2 separate regions of the Homo sapiens genome follow, and region 2 is linked to region 1. Evidence: promoter capture Hi-C in 16 types of primary human blood cells and fetal thymus (Javierre and others, 2016). All regions are on one chromosome and are shown on one strand. The core of a region is centred on a gene start or on the middle of the fragment in contact, and the rest is flanking DNA. Distances in the headings are between cores, read along the strand shown.

What was found. The method cuts DNA at HindIII sites, captures the fragments that hold promoters and counts their contacts. A CHiCAGO score of 5 or more calls a contact.
Region 2: a contact is called between a fragment that was not itself captured here and the fragment with the promoter of COPRS in region 1, in 1 of 17 cell types (neutrophils). The highest score is 6.7, in neutrophils.

The regions. Positions count from the first base shown.
Region 1 is chr17:31,854,741-31,861,349 of GRCh38, reverse strand. It overlaps COPRS (coordinator of PRMT5 and differentiation stimulator), which reads left to right and starts at 2,106. Exons shown (of 4, transcript NM_018405.4): 1 at 2,106-2,249; 2 at 4,485-4,551. The coding sequence starts at 2,151. UTP6 (UTP6 small subunit processome component) reads left to right here. Exons shown (of 19, transcript NM_018428.3): 19 at 1-446. RefSeq lists a silencer at 1,956-2,385 and an enhancer at 2,445-3,119. The HindIII fragment of the contact is 3,390 bases long and covers 482-3,871 here.
Region 2 is chr17:31,473,070-31,479,220 of GRCh38, reverse strand. All of the region lies in intron 3 of RAB11FIP4 (RAB11 family interacting protein 4), which reads right to left. Among named protein-coding and RNA genes, the nearest start is that of MIR4724, 59 kb to the left of the region's middle. RefSeq lists an enhancer at 2,078-2,894. The HindIII fragment of the contact is 3,910 bases long and covers 1-3,302 here.

The sequences.
Region 1 (6,609 bases), core at 857-3,356:
GAGCCATTGTGCCTGGCCAGAGTTTTTAAAAACATATTCAGAATATTAATATCTTGTTTCTCATTTGTTGCAAATAATTTTACCCCCAGCCTTGTTTGTGGTGATTTTTTTTTTTTGAGACAGAGTCTTGCTCTGTGGTCCAGGCTGGAGTGCAGTGGTGTGGTCTTACTGCAACCTCTGCCTCCTAGGTTCAAACAGTTCTCCCTGCCAAAGCCTCCCAAGTAGCTGGGATTATAGGCACCTTTTGTGGCGATTTTTGATGCCCAGAGGTATTTTGTGTGTGTATGTGTGATGTCTGTTTTTAAAATGCTTTGGAAGCTCTTCCTGGTGCTGAGAACAACTCTTTTTCCCCAAGCAGTTAATTTTGCCAACACTATTTGGGCAGTTATGTTTCTCTCTGCTGATTTGTGATGTTACCTTTATTATATATTAAATTTCTATGAGTATTAGAGTCTACTTTAGAACATTTTTATTTTAAGCTTTTGTACTGTTTTCTTTTTCTTTCTGGTTTTTTTTTTTTTTAGACCAAGTCTCACTCTGTCGCCCAGGCTGGAGTGCTGTGGGGCAATCTCTGCTCACTGCACCCTCCACCTCCCGGGCTCAAGTGATTCTCCTGCCTCAGCCTCCCGAGTAGCTGGGATTATGGGTGTGTGCCACCACGCCTGGCTAATTTTTGTATTTTTAGTAGAGATGGGGTTTCACCATGTTGGCCAGGATAGCCTTGAACTGACCTCAAGTGATCTGCCTGCCTCGGCCTCCCAAAGTGCTGGAATTACAGGAGTGAGCCACCGCGGCCAGCCCCTGTTTTCTTGTCATTTGTTTTAAAATAAGAAAAAAATTCCTCTTTTTCCTGTCCCTTAAGTCCTGGGATGTTTAACATTCTTAATCTTATTTGGCACTTTAATTTTACGAAAGAGATATGTAGATTAGGGAGCAAAGAGGATAGTGGTAGTCTCCTTAACACAAGGCTATAAGGGTGGTCACCTGGGGTCATCACATCCCTGTATCTGATTCTCAATATTGCAGGTTATGAAAACACATCTAGCTAGTACACCTAGAGTTGCACTGTTAGAAACAGTAGCTCCAAGGCACATGTAGCAATTTAAATTTATTAGAATTATTCAATTTATTCACATTGGCCACATTTCAAGTGCTCAGTAGGTATATGGTTACTATATTGGACAGTACAGATAGTAGAACTTTCATTTCCACTTCCACCATTAAAGAACGTTCTATTGGACATTGCTGACCTAGAGGCAGTTAGCCTTGGGGATACTGACTCCTGTGTAGGAACATCTACATATAGAACAAAAATAATATCGAATATTGTGTGTCAGTTTTATGCTAAATTTTTTCAAATGCCTTTTGTGTTGTACAAACAACACAGTCTTTGAGGGGGATGAAGGAAGAGGGTCTCATGTCCTGATGTTGACGTGATTAGCACACCTTGAGCTGGTTTGTTATTAGAGGTTAGGCACTGTGGGGAAGGCAGGGAAGGCTGTCTTTCCAGTTGGGCTGTTCCCAGCTCAGGCCCTGCCTATCCCCAGAAGCCACCTTTCGAGGCAAAATGGGAAATAATTAGGTTGTCGGTATCAGGCGTTGAGCATGGAAATACAGGAATCCCGAATGTTCAGGATTATTATGAGTAAGCGTCGTGGCCTGTATTCTGTGTCCACTGCATATTGCAGTTTGTGTCTTAATCATCTATCTTGGTTTCTAATGGATTAACTTCAAAGACGATCATTAGCTCAAGGTGGAGGTCACTGGGTTGCTCATGTGTCTTACCCACGCGGGGTTTTGAAGCTGGAGCACACCCCGAGTGGCCGAGTAGGGTACGCTTGGCGTTTCACACGCAGCTAGTCGTGCAGCCTTAGGATATGCACCGAGAGGAGTTTCCAAAATCCGTCTCCGAGATTGTTTCAGATTTCGCGCTGGGAGGGAGGGGCGGGCTCCGCGAGGCCGCGCGCCCCGCCCCCTGCGCCGCCCCGCCCCCGCTTGCTCGTGACACCCCCGCGCCCCGCCCTCTTGGCCGGTACCCACCCCCTCCCCAGGCTGATTGGCGCTTCTGCGGCGGATCCTCGGGCGGGCAGCCGGGCCGGCGCGTCACGTGGCCCACGGCGTCCAGGGCGACCAGCCGCGGGCCGCAGGGCATGGACCTTCAGGCCGCCGGGGCCCAGGCGCAGGGGGCCGCGGAGCCGTCTCGGGGCCCGCCGCTGCCTAGCGCGCGGGGGGCGCCCCCCAGCCCGGAGGTGAGCGCCGCGTGGGGGCCAGGAGCAACAGCCAGCCGCAGCCTGGGGCGGGAAGTCGCGGGGCCGGGCTGGGCGGGGGCCGCGGGGCCGGGGAAGCGCCTCTGGCCGGCCTCGGGCCGCCCCGCGACACGGAGCGCTGTTTGGGCTCGCGCTCGAGCTGAAAACGGCCAGGCCGCGGGGCCGCGGGGCTGCGGGGCGGGGAAAGCCGAGGGCGTGGGTGGGCGCTCTGGGTCAGCAGAGACGGCTGTCCGCCCGCTGGGCGCCGCTGCGGATTTGGTAAATGGGAGGTGACGCTGGTGACCGAGAGCCGGGGCCCGCTGCCAGGAGCCTGGGCGAGGGCCAGGTGAGGGCGGCGAGGAGAGGGACTTGACTTTACAGACCTGTGGACCTCTGTCCGTTGGTGGGGATGCCAGCTAACCCTGAGCCCCAGATGTCACATGCGCGCTCCCCCTTCTCCTTACTGAAACCAGAAAGGCCCTGTTTGACGCAGGGTTTCCAGAAACTTGTTTTCATGTAAGCTAGACAGCTCCTGGTTTTCCCGAGAACGTTACAGACCGTTATTACAGTTCTTACCTGTCCTTGTTTACAGTCTGTACCGGCTAGGTGCTGAGCGGCTTGAAGGTAGGAACCCTCTGTTAGGGCTGTTTGCACAGCCTAGCATAGTGCCTGGCACAGGAGATAGACATACCGACTGGATGAATGATGCCTCAAAGATGGTACTTAGCCAAAGTAAGATATGAAAAATGCAGCGACACTTACAAAGAAAATTACTTTGGAGTGCAGAATAGAATGGGACTAATTTTGTCAGGGCATAGCAGGAAAGGATCAAGGTGAGAGGCTGGTGGTGTCTGCAGAGGCGTGGAGATGAGAAAGTGCAGGGCACATGGCCTGGAGTTGGGTCTCAGAGCATGCAGAGAACTATGCTCAACAGGTTGATGGGAGTGGGAGAAGAGGGGACGTGCGAATGCCATGGCTAATTTTGTGCTCTCTCAGTGGAGGGCTGTTGAAGGTTTTGAGCAGAGTAGTGATTAATTCTGTAAGGCTGGGCCAGATGGCTGGATGGGAAGGTGGTTAGGAGGCCGTGGCAGTGGTTTAGGTGAGAGGTCTGACTTCTCCTTGGGCGGCAGTGACCAGAGGTTGTCACTAACTACAGGGAGTGGAACTGAATTATTAAACCCAGACATGACTAGATAATGAATGCTGATTGGAGCAGGTGCCGAGTACAGTTTAGATGTAGCAGAAAAGATGAATTTAAATTCAAGAAATGTTACATTCTTGCCACATGCCAGGTGTTTTCATAAATGGTGTCTAATCATAAGTCCCCTGCAGGGTCAGAACAGTCACCCCTAATTTCTGGAGAAGAAAACTCAGGCACAGTAATTGAAGTGATGTGTTCAAGGTCACACTCTGAATGGATGGCAGAGCTGGGATCAAAATCAGGTCTTTTATGCAGGCAGGGAACATTTCGTGATTCATTAGAAAGAGGTCTTGGAGGTCATAGGGTTTCAGGAACTTCTGAGTGATGGGAGCAGAGAAGCATTTGGTTGGCTGTGCGGGAAGATTTTCAGTTAGATTAGAAATACTGCCTTCAGTGCTCAGCATTGCAGAGGAATTATAAAGCTTCCCCCACCTCAGTGTGTTGGTGAGGAAACAGAGAATTTGATAGAGTTGTTTACTAGCTATAAAGTTGTTAAGTAACTGAAAAGGTAAAACGTGTACCTGGGGGTGGCAACCGCAGGGAACAGCTACCAACCTATGGCTGAAGGAACAAAGAGATGAAGTTGATTAAAATTTAAAAGCTTAGGGAAAAGGCTCTGCAGAGCTGAAATTCCAACCTTTAAGGAGAAGGCACTGCCCCAGCTGATGGTAGGGGGTCTCTGAGCTTGGAGGAGAGTCCTGAGACCCAGACCTCTAAAGAGAAGGTGCAGTGATAAGACTGGCTCTGCAAGAGTTCGCAGAACTGTATACTGGATTCTGTGGCCACTATAGGAAGGCATTCCTGCTGCCACGGTGAAGTGTCATGAGGTGATGCCTACATGAATAGGAAGGAACAAGGCCCATCTCCCTCCAGCCTTGCTCAGTTTAACAGGGCAAAGTAGAAATGTGGGTGGCAGAGTCCCAGCCCTGCATCACCAAGGGGAGTATGGAAGAGTGGGTGGGGTTGAGATGCAATAGCTGAATACTGGGCATACCCCAGATACCCAAGTCCTTGGTAATCATTTCTTCTTCCTGCAGGCTGGCTTTGCTACAGCTGACCACTCCAGTCAGGAGAGAGAGACTGAGAAGGCTATGGATCGACTAGGCAAGTAGATGGCAGAGACGGAAGTTGGGGAGACCAAGGATGTGAGGAGAGGAATAGTCCCTCTGTCTCATTTACCTTCTCTTTTAGCCAGTCCTCTCTGCTGCTTAGTGGCCTTCTCTGCCCAGTTGAACAGTAACCTCCTTTGGAAGCCTTGCTTGGAGCTTCCTTAAGGGAAGTCCTGAACTTTTCTTATGTTCAAATCCATCCTTCTACCGAGAGAAACAGCTTGAAACGGTGAAAATAGTACAGCAGTCTCACCTTATTCCTAGGGGATACATTCTAAGACCCCCCCGCCCCAATGGATGCCTGAAACTGCTTTTTTTTCCTCCTATATATACTATTTCTGATATGGTTTAACTTATAAATTATGCATATGTGATTAATAACAATAGTAATATAGAACAATTATGCCAGTATACTGAAAGTTACGTGAATGTGTTCTCTCTCAAAATATCTTTTTTTTTTGAAACGGAGTCTCGCTGTGTCACCAGGCTGGAGTACAGTGGCACGATGTCAGCTCACCGCAACCTCCGCTTCCCAGGTTAAAGCAATTCTCCTGCCTCAGCCTCCCGAGTAGCTGGAACTACAGGCACGCGCCACCACACCCAGCTAACTTTTGTATTTTTAGTAGCTATGGGGTTTTACTATGTTGGCCAGGCTGGTCTCGAACTCCTGATCTCAAGTGATCTGCCCACCTAGGCCTCCCAAAGTGCTGGGATTACTGTGAGCCCACGCTCCCAAAGTGCTGGGATTACAAAGGCATGAGCCACTGTGCCCAGCCCCCTGCCGTTTTTTTTTTTTTTTGAGAGGGAGTTTTGCTCTTGTTGCCCAGGCTGGAGTGCAATGGCACAATCTTGGCTCACTGCAACCTCTGCCTCCTGGATTCAAGCATTCTCCTACCTCAGCCTCCCAAGTAGCTGGATTACAGGCATATGCCACCATGCCCAGCTAATTTTTGTATTTTTAGTAGAGATGGGGTTTCACCATGTTAGCCAGGCTGGTCTCGAACTCCTGACCTCACCTGATCCATCTGCCTCAGCCTCTCAGAGTGCTGGGATTACAGGTGTGAGCTACCACGCTTGGCCCCTTTTTTTCTTTTTCTTTTTTTTTTTTGAGATGGAGTCTCACTCTGTCACCCAGGCTGGAGTGCAGTGTCGCAATCTTGGCTCACTGCAACCTCTGTCTCCCGGGTTCAAGTGATTCTCGTGCCTCAGCCTCCTGAGTAGCTGGGATTACAGGCGTGCACCATATCGCCTGGCTAATTTTTGTATTTATTTATTTATTTATTTATTTATTTTTTGAGACGGAGTCTCGCTCTGTCTCCCAGGCAGTGGCACTATCTCGGCTCACTGCAAACTCTGCCCCCTGGGTTCACACCATTCTCCTGCCTCAGCCTCCCGAGTAGCTGGGACCACAGGCACCCGCCACCACGCCTGGCTAATTTTTTGTGTTTTTAGTAGAGATAGGATTTTACCTTGTTAGGATGGTCTCGATCTCCTGACCTCGTGATCTGCCCTCCTTGGCCACCCAAAGTGCTGGGATTACAGGCGTGAGCCACTGCTCCCGGCCTAATTTTTGTATTTTTAGTGGAGAGGGGCTTTCACCATGTTGGCCAGGCTGGTCTCAAACTCCTGACCTCAGGTGATCCGCCCACCTCGGCCTCCCAAAGTGCTGGGATTACAGGCATGAGCCACCGTGCCTGGCCTTTTTTTTTCTTTTAACTCTCACAACAACCCTATCTTCATTTTACAGATGTGGAAGTTGAGGCACAGAACAGTTAAATAAAAACAATTTAAAAATTGTGGTAAAAGATGCATAACCTAAATTTACCATGTAACCATTTTAACGCATATAATTCAGTAGCCTTTTAGCACAATGGCAGTGTTGTGCAACCATCACCACTACCTAGTTCCAGAATCTTTTCATCACCCTAAAAGGAAACCCTGTGCTCACCAAGTAGTCATTCTCCATTCCTTCCTTCTCTGAGCTCTTGGCAACCACTAATTTGCTTTCTGTCTCTGTGGGTTTATCTGTTCTGGATAGGCAAATGTGAGTTGC
Region 2 (6,151 bases), core at 98-2,597, 380 kb after region 1:
ACCAAGGAGAGAACATTTCCCTGCAGCCTATTGTTGATAACAGCTATGTACTATGTGCCAGCCACTTCATTTCTTAATTTAATCCAACAATCTTGTAGAGTAGATGTTACTGCACTCATGAAACAAATAAGGAAACTGAGGCTCAAGAGGATTAAGTGGTGGCAGAGACAAGATTTGTACCCAGATCTGGCCCACGTTCAGGACTCCCTTCTGCCTCTCTTGTTGCATCACTGGCTTACTTACAGCAACCGGAATTGCCTGGGAAGCAGCAGAAACTAATTGGTAAGGATGATTGAAGACCATGAGCAATTAAAGGCCTCAAGTTCCTCTTCATCATCCTTGGGTTGCAGGTGTCTGCTGTCCAGCTCAGCAGTGTCTCAGTCAGTGGCAGCCCACATCAGGTGTCTATGATTTGCCACATGCACCTCTGCAGTCCTACCTGCTGGCTTAGAGCTGAGGACTGGCCACTACCTGCTGTTGACTTGGCTGCTGCCTCCTGCCCCAGTTCTAAGCCCAGGGAGATGCATCCTGCCATTTCCCTGGCTGCTACCAGATAAGCTAAGCAGTATGAGGCCAGGGCTCCAGGGAGGGAGGGAAGGAAGCAGTATTTGTTGTCTTCAAAGACGTGTTTTGTGGAAACCCCATCCCACTCTGATAGCAAGAAATTGATCTGTGGTCAAATCAGCCGGTGAAATTCTTCACTCCCTCTTGAAGATGTCACAGGCACCTCTGCAGGAGAGAAGCCTCCCTAGCTTTTAACCCCAGGCTTCCTTAAGGCAACTGGGCTTGGACAGGACCCTTCTTATTTAACATTTAACAACACAAGGGATCAGTGTTCTGAGAAGAGCACACCTGGGCAAACAATGCACCAGGCTCCCAACACGCGCGGAAGGCAGACGTTATGTTCATCTTAAAGGTATTTACAGCTGGCCAGGCACGGTGGCTCATGCCTGTAATCCCAGCACTTTGGGAGACCAAGGCGGGTGAATCATTTGAGGTCAAGAGTTCGAGACCAGCCTGGCCAACATAGTGAAACCCCGTCTCTACTAAAAATACAAAAATTAGCCAGGTGTGGTGGTGGTCGCCTATAATCCCAGCTACTCAGGAAGCTGAGGCAGGGGAATCGCTTGAACCCAGGAGGTGGAGGTTGCAGTGAGCCGAGATCTAGCCACTGCACTCCAGCCTGGGTGACAGAGACTCTGTCTCAAAAAAAAAAAAAAAAAAGTATTAACAGCAAATGGCCACATAGCACTTAATATATACAAGCTCCGTTCTAGTGCTTCACATGATATGAGCTCATTTAATCCTCCCGACAACCCTACGAGGCAGGTATTATCCCCATTTTACAGATGGGGAAACTGAGGCTCAGAGAGGTTACTCAAGGACATACAGCTAGTAAGTTGAGAGCCAGGAGTCAAACCCAGGCAGCCTGGCTCCAGAGACTGTGCACCTAGCCGTTATCCTATGTAAAAAAGAGAGGCTCGGTTTTGTATAATAAAATAACTTCCCCAAAGTAACCATCATAGAACCAAGACCATTCATTCATTCACCCCGTCATTCATTTACTCAAACAAGAATCACTGAGCAGAAACCGCAGGCCAGACCTAGTGCTGGCCACCCAGAGACCAAGGAAGAACAAGGTGCAGCCTTGCTGTGGACCTGCCGGCTGCCTGTCCAGGCGCCTCTGACGCCCGCGCTGCTCTTCTCCCCACAGCTTGTCTGGGGACCTGGGGCTCTGCTGTCAGCTTCGCACCCTCCCAGCCGTGGCTTCTCATCTATATCTGATGGGTCAAGGAGGGTGGGCGGGGAGCACCCAGCTTCTCCCCAAGCCCAGGCTCCTTCCTCAGCCCCACAGGGGAGCACTGAGCCCCCCACCAGGTAAGTGCCCCCTCCTCACAGTCGTGTGGTTGCTCCCTGCCTGAGGAACACTCCAGGTGGCAGCCATTAGTCTCAGATTTAGCGGCCTCCTGAGAGGCGGGATGACAGTGGACGATGACGACTCTGAGTCTGTTCTGGGGTTGGAAGGACACACACTGAAGGGCTTGTAACTCCACTCTGAAAGCAGAGTCCCCCGCAATTGTCTCCTAAATTATCTCAGTGATGCTGGGATGAAGAAGTATCCCAAACCACAACACGCAAGCTACCCCACAAAAGACAGAAGAAGGGCTGCAGACTCTGCCCTGTGGAGAAGGTGGTGGGGCTGGGGAGAGGGCGGCTCCCTGGGGCCTGCCCAAGTTTATCCCCTGAATAAACAGGAGGCCACAGCAGACCGGATGGGCTGGTGTCGGGAGACTGGCTGGCCTCCGTGCTCAGTCACAGATGCCTCCTTTGTGCCTCCCCTGCCAGGGCTGGGCTGGGCAAAGGAAAACCAAAGGTGCCCGGCCTCTGGACACGGAGCCACTGTTCCACCCACTTAGGGGAAAACCACGGCCCAGCAACAGCTCTGTGGCTGCAGCCCAGGAGGGCTGAAGGAGCTTCTGTGTTCACGTAGAAACTGGAGAGGCCAGTGCAGTGGGGAGGCAGGCTGCTCATGGGGTGCCCTAAAAAAGAAACCTTTCTTCCAGGCCAGGTCCCCTGTGGTCCCCACTGGATCACAAGGCCACATTCATGGGGTGAAGCCCCCTAGTGCCCCACCAGCCCAGGTTTCAGCCCCAGCTCTGCTATTACTACCTGTAGCTCGTCTAGTCTCTTAGCCTTGGTTTCTTATGTGACCAACAGAGTTAATAGTACACACGAGGCCAGGCACGGTGGCTCACACCTATAATCCCAGCACTTTGGGAGCCCGAGGTGGGTGGATCCCTTGAGGTTAGGAGTTTGAGACCAGCCTGGCCAACATGGTGAAATCCCGTCTCTACTAAAAATACAAACATTAGCTGGGCGTGATGGCACGTGCCTGTAATCCCAGCTACTTGGGAGGCTGAGGCAGGAGAATCACTTGAACCCAGGAGGCAGACATTGCAGTGAGCCAAGATTGCACCACTGCACTCCAGCCTGGGTGACAGAGGAGGACACCGTATCAAAAAAAAAAAAAAAAAAAAAAAAAAAAAAGTTCAGTCGATTCTCATTATTTGCAGTAGTTATGCTCTATGAAGTCACTACAAACACAGAATCGTGAATACTGAACCATTGCCCCTAGGGGAAATACTGGTTCAATTCCTGTGAGCCTCTGATCACAACATTTTCATCAAACGATCAATGCATAACCTTGTTTTAAGCATGTCTCTGTTTAAAGACACTATATTTAATACATATTGTTGATTCATTAACATTGAACTCACTGTAGCTCATGCCTGGGCAAAGCTTATCTAACACTCAGTCGTTATTTTCTCCACAAGGCACGTCCCAGCCTTCTTGCATTTAGGAACACTAGACAGCCTTTGGGGGCCATTTCAAATAGCAAAATCGCCAAAAAAAAAAAAAACCACACAAAAATGCAGAAAACGTGGCACTAACTAGACCGTGAAGAGGACACTTGTTTACAGTATGAGAGCTGAAACAAGAAGGCCGCTTGTCGCCTTGTTTGACCTCAGCTGGGAACATGCACGTTGGGCAACTCACATCTTCACCACCGTGAGAATGTTTGCAAATGATCACAAAGGCTCTGCGAGTATTGATTTTGGTGTTACAAATGAATTTCAGCAAGCAGGCAAATTTGCAAATACAGAATGTGCAAGTAATAAGGACCAACTGTATCTGTGTCACAGGGGTTTTGAGGGATGGCTTGTTAAATGAAAGAATGCACGACGAATGCTTAAGCGTAGCAACAGCTCACATCTTTTTACTGTAACTAGTATTATTTGCTGAACCTACCACGTCTTGACAGCTTAGAATGTCTTTCTTTGTGCTTTTTCCAGTGAATGAAGCCCAGAGTCAGGTTTGAAGCGCACCAGTGCCCTTTGCAGCTGGGAGACTTGCAGGTTAAGCTGACTCTCCTCTCTTCTTGTCTTCTCATCTCCAGCACTGCTTCCCACCACTCACTCACAGCCAGTGACCATGCCCAGTGACCTCCCCACCAGCTCTACACACCAACCTGCACAGGTGCCTCTACTCTGCCTTCTTCTTGATACAAAGCATTATTCACAGATGGACCCTTCCATGTGGGCCCTGGACCCCATCCCCTTCAAGGTTTTGCTCCTGCCCTCCCCTTCTGAATCATCCATTTCTCCTTCTCTATGAGTTCCTCTCCTCACCACATTATGCCCCTGGCTTTAAACGTTCCTTCAAGTTCCTCCCTGAACACCACAGCGGTTGAAATGAACTAACTAGAGTGTCACGGGTCCTCATCTTACCTTAACAATCCTCATAGCACCTGGTGAGGTGAATCTCTGTTTTTTTTTTGTTTTTTGTTTTGTTTTGTTTTGTTTTGTTTTGTTTTTTGAGACAGTGTTTCGCTCTGTCGTGCCCAGGCTAGAGTGCAGTGGTGCAATCTTGGCTCACTGCAACCTCCACCTCCCGGGTTCAAGCTATTCTCCTGCCTTAGCCTCCCAAGTAGATGGGATTACAGGCACCGGATCTCTCCTTTAAACACTTTCTCTCTTTTTTTTTTTTTTTTGAGATGGAGTCTAGCTCTGTCCCCCAGGCTGGAGTGCAGTGGCGCAATCTCAGCTTACTGAAGCCTCTGTCTCCCAGGTTCAAGTGAATCTCCTGCCTCAGCCCCGAGTAGCTGGAACTACAGGCATGCACCACCACACCTGGCTAACTTGTGTATTTTCAGTAGAGATGGGTTTCATCATATTGGCCAGGCTGGTCTCAAACTCCTGACCTTAAGTGATCCACCCTCCTCGGCCTCCCAAAGTGCTGGGATTACAGGTGTGAGCCACCGCACCTGGTCCCTTTAAACCTTTCTTAGCTTGGTTCCAGGGCACCACCCCTCCAACCTCCTCAGCTCTCAAGGTTGGCATGCTCTGTGCTTCAATCCTCTTCCCTTCTCACCTAGCCTGAGACTTTAAATTCCACCAGTGCTGATGTCCCCACCCCACATTGTTGCCACCCAGCCTAGACCTCTTCCTGGAGCTCCGAACTAAATGCATCCAATTGCCTGTGAGGAAGTTGACTGGGGAATGTCTTAGGGCTTGGCCTGTGAGGGCACAAGGGATGCAGGATGGGCAGAGGGAGAAGTGGATTGCATTGCAGCTGCAATGAGCCTCAGCTGATCCCCGGGGCATCTGGAGCCAAGATAGTCCTTCAAAGTTGCCCAGAAAGAGGCAAGGGGGCAAAATCATTGTGTCCCCACCTGGACCAGCCTTCAGATGAGGGCTGCCCCAGGATGGGTCTGTCATCTTGGGCAAGGCAGCCCCTTTGGCTCCTGGGGACGGTCTGCAGCAGCCAACACTTCTGGCAGGTGGCCTTGGACCTCAAGGGGATGTGGATGCATACCACAGTGTGCAGACGACTTCAACTGACTATCCAGTGGGCAGCTCAAATTAACATGCTTACCACCCAAATGTCAAGTTTCCCTCCATGCCCGCTGAGCAAATCGCACCAACCTCCATGCAGGAGCTCAGGTGAGGACCATGGAATAGCCCTGGATGGCTCTTTCCTCCACCTACATCAGCAGTCCTGGCAGCCTGGCCGAGCTGACCGCCTCCTTCTCACCTTCTTTTCCCTGGACAAATGCAACCACCTAACTCTTCCCGATTCCAGTGCTGTCTTCCTCCAGGTGCTGCAGGGGCTCTTTTTTGAGACAGAGTCTCACTCTGTCGCCCAGGCTGAAGCGCAGTGGCGTGATCTCAGCTCATGCAGCCTCTAACACCTGGGCTGCAGTGATGCTCCCATCTCAGCCTCCGAGTAGCTAGGACTACAGGAACATGCCACCATGCCCAGCTAATTTTTTTTTTTTTTTTGGTAGAGACTGGGTCTTGCTTTGTTGTCCAGGCTGGTCTTGAACTCCTGGCCTCAAGCAATCCACCTGCCTCAGCCTCCCAAAGTGCTGGGATTATAAGCGTGAGCCACTGTGACTGGCCAGGGATATTTTTAAAACATCAGGCAGGTCTTGTCATTTCCCAGCTAAAAGCCCTTGCCTGGCCTCTTGTGCAGACTCCTTGCTTGTGCTCTCAGAACCTCTGCCCGGGTCCTCCTTCCATTCCATTCCACCTTCCCATCACTCAGCCACCAAACAGCCAAGCTCTTTCCCACTCCCCCACCTCACGTG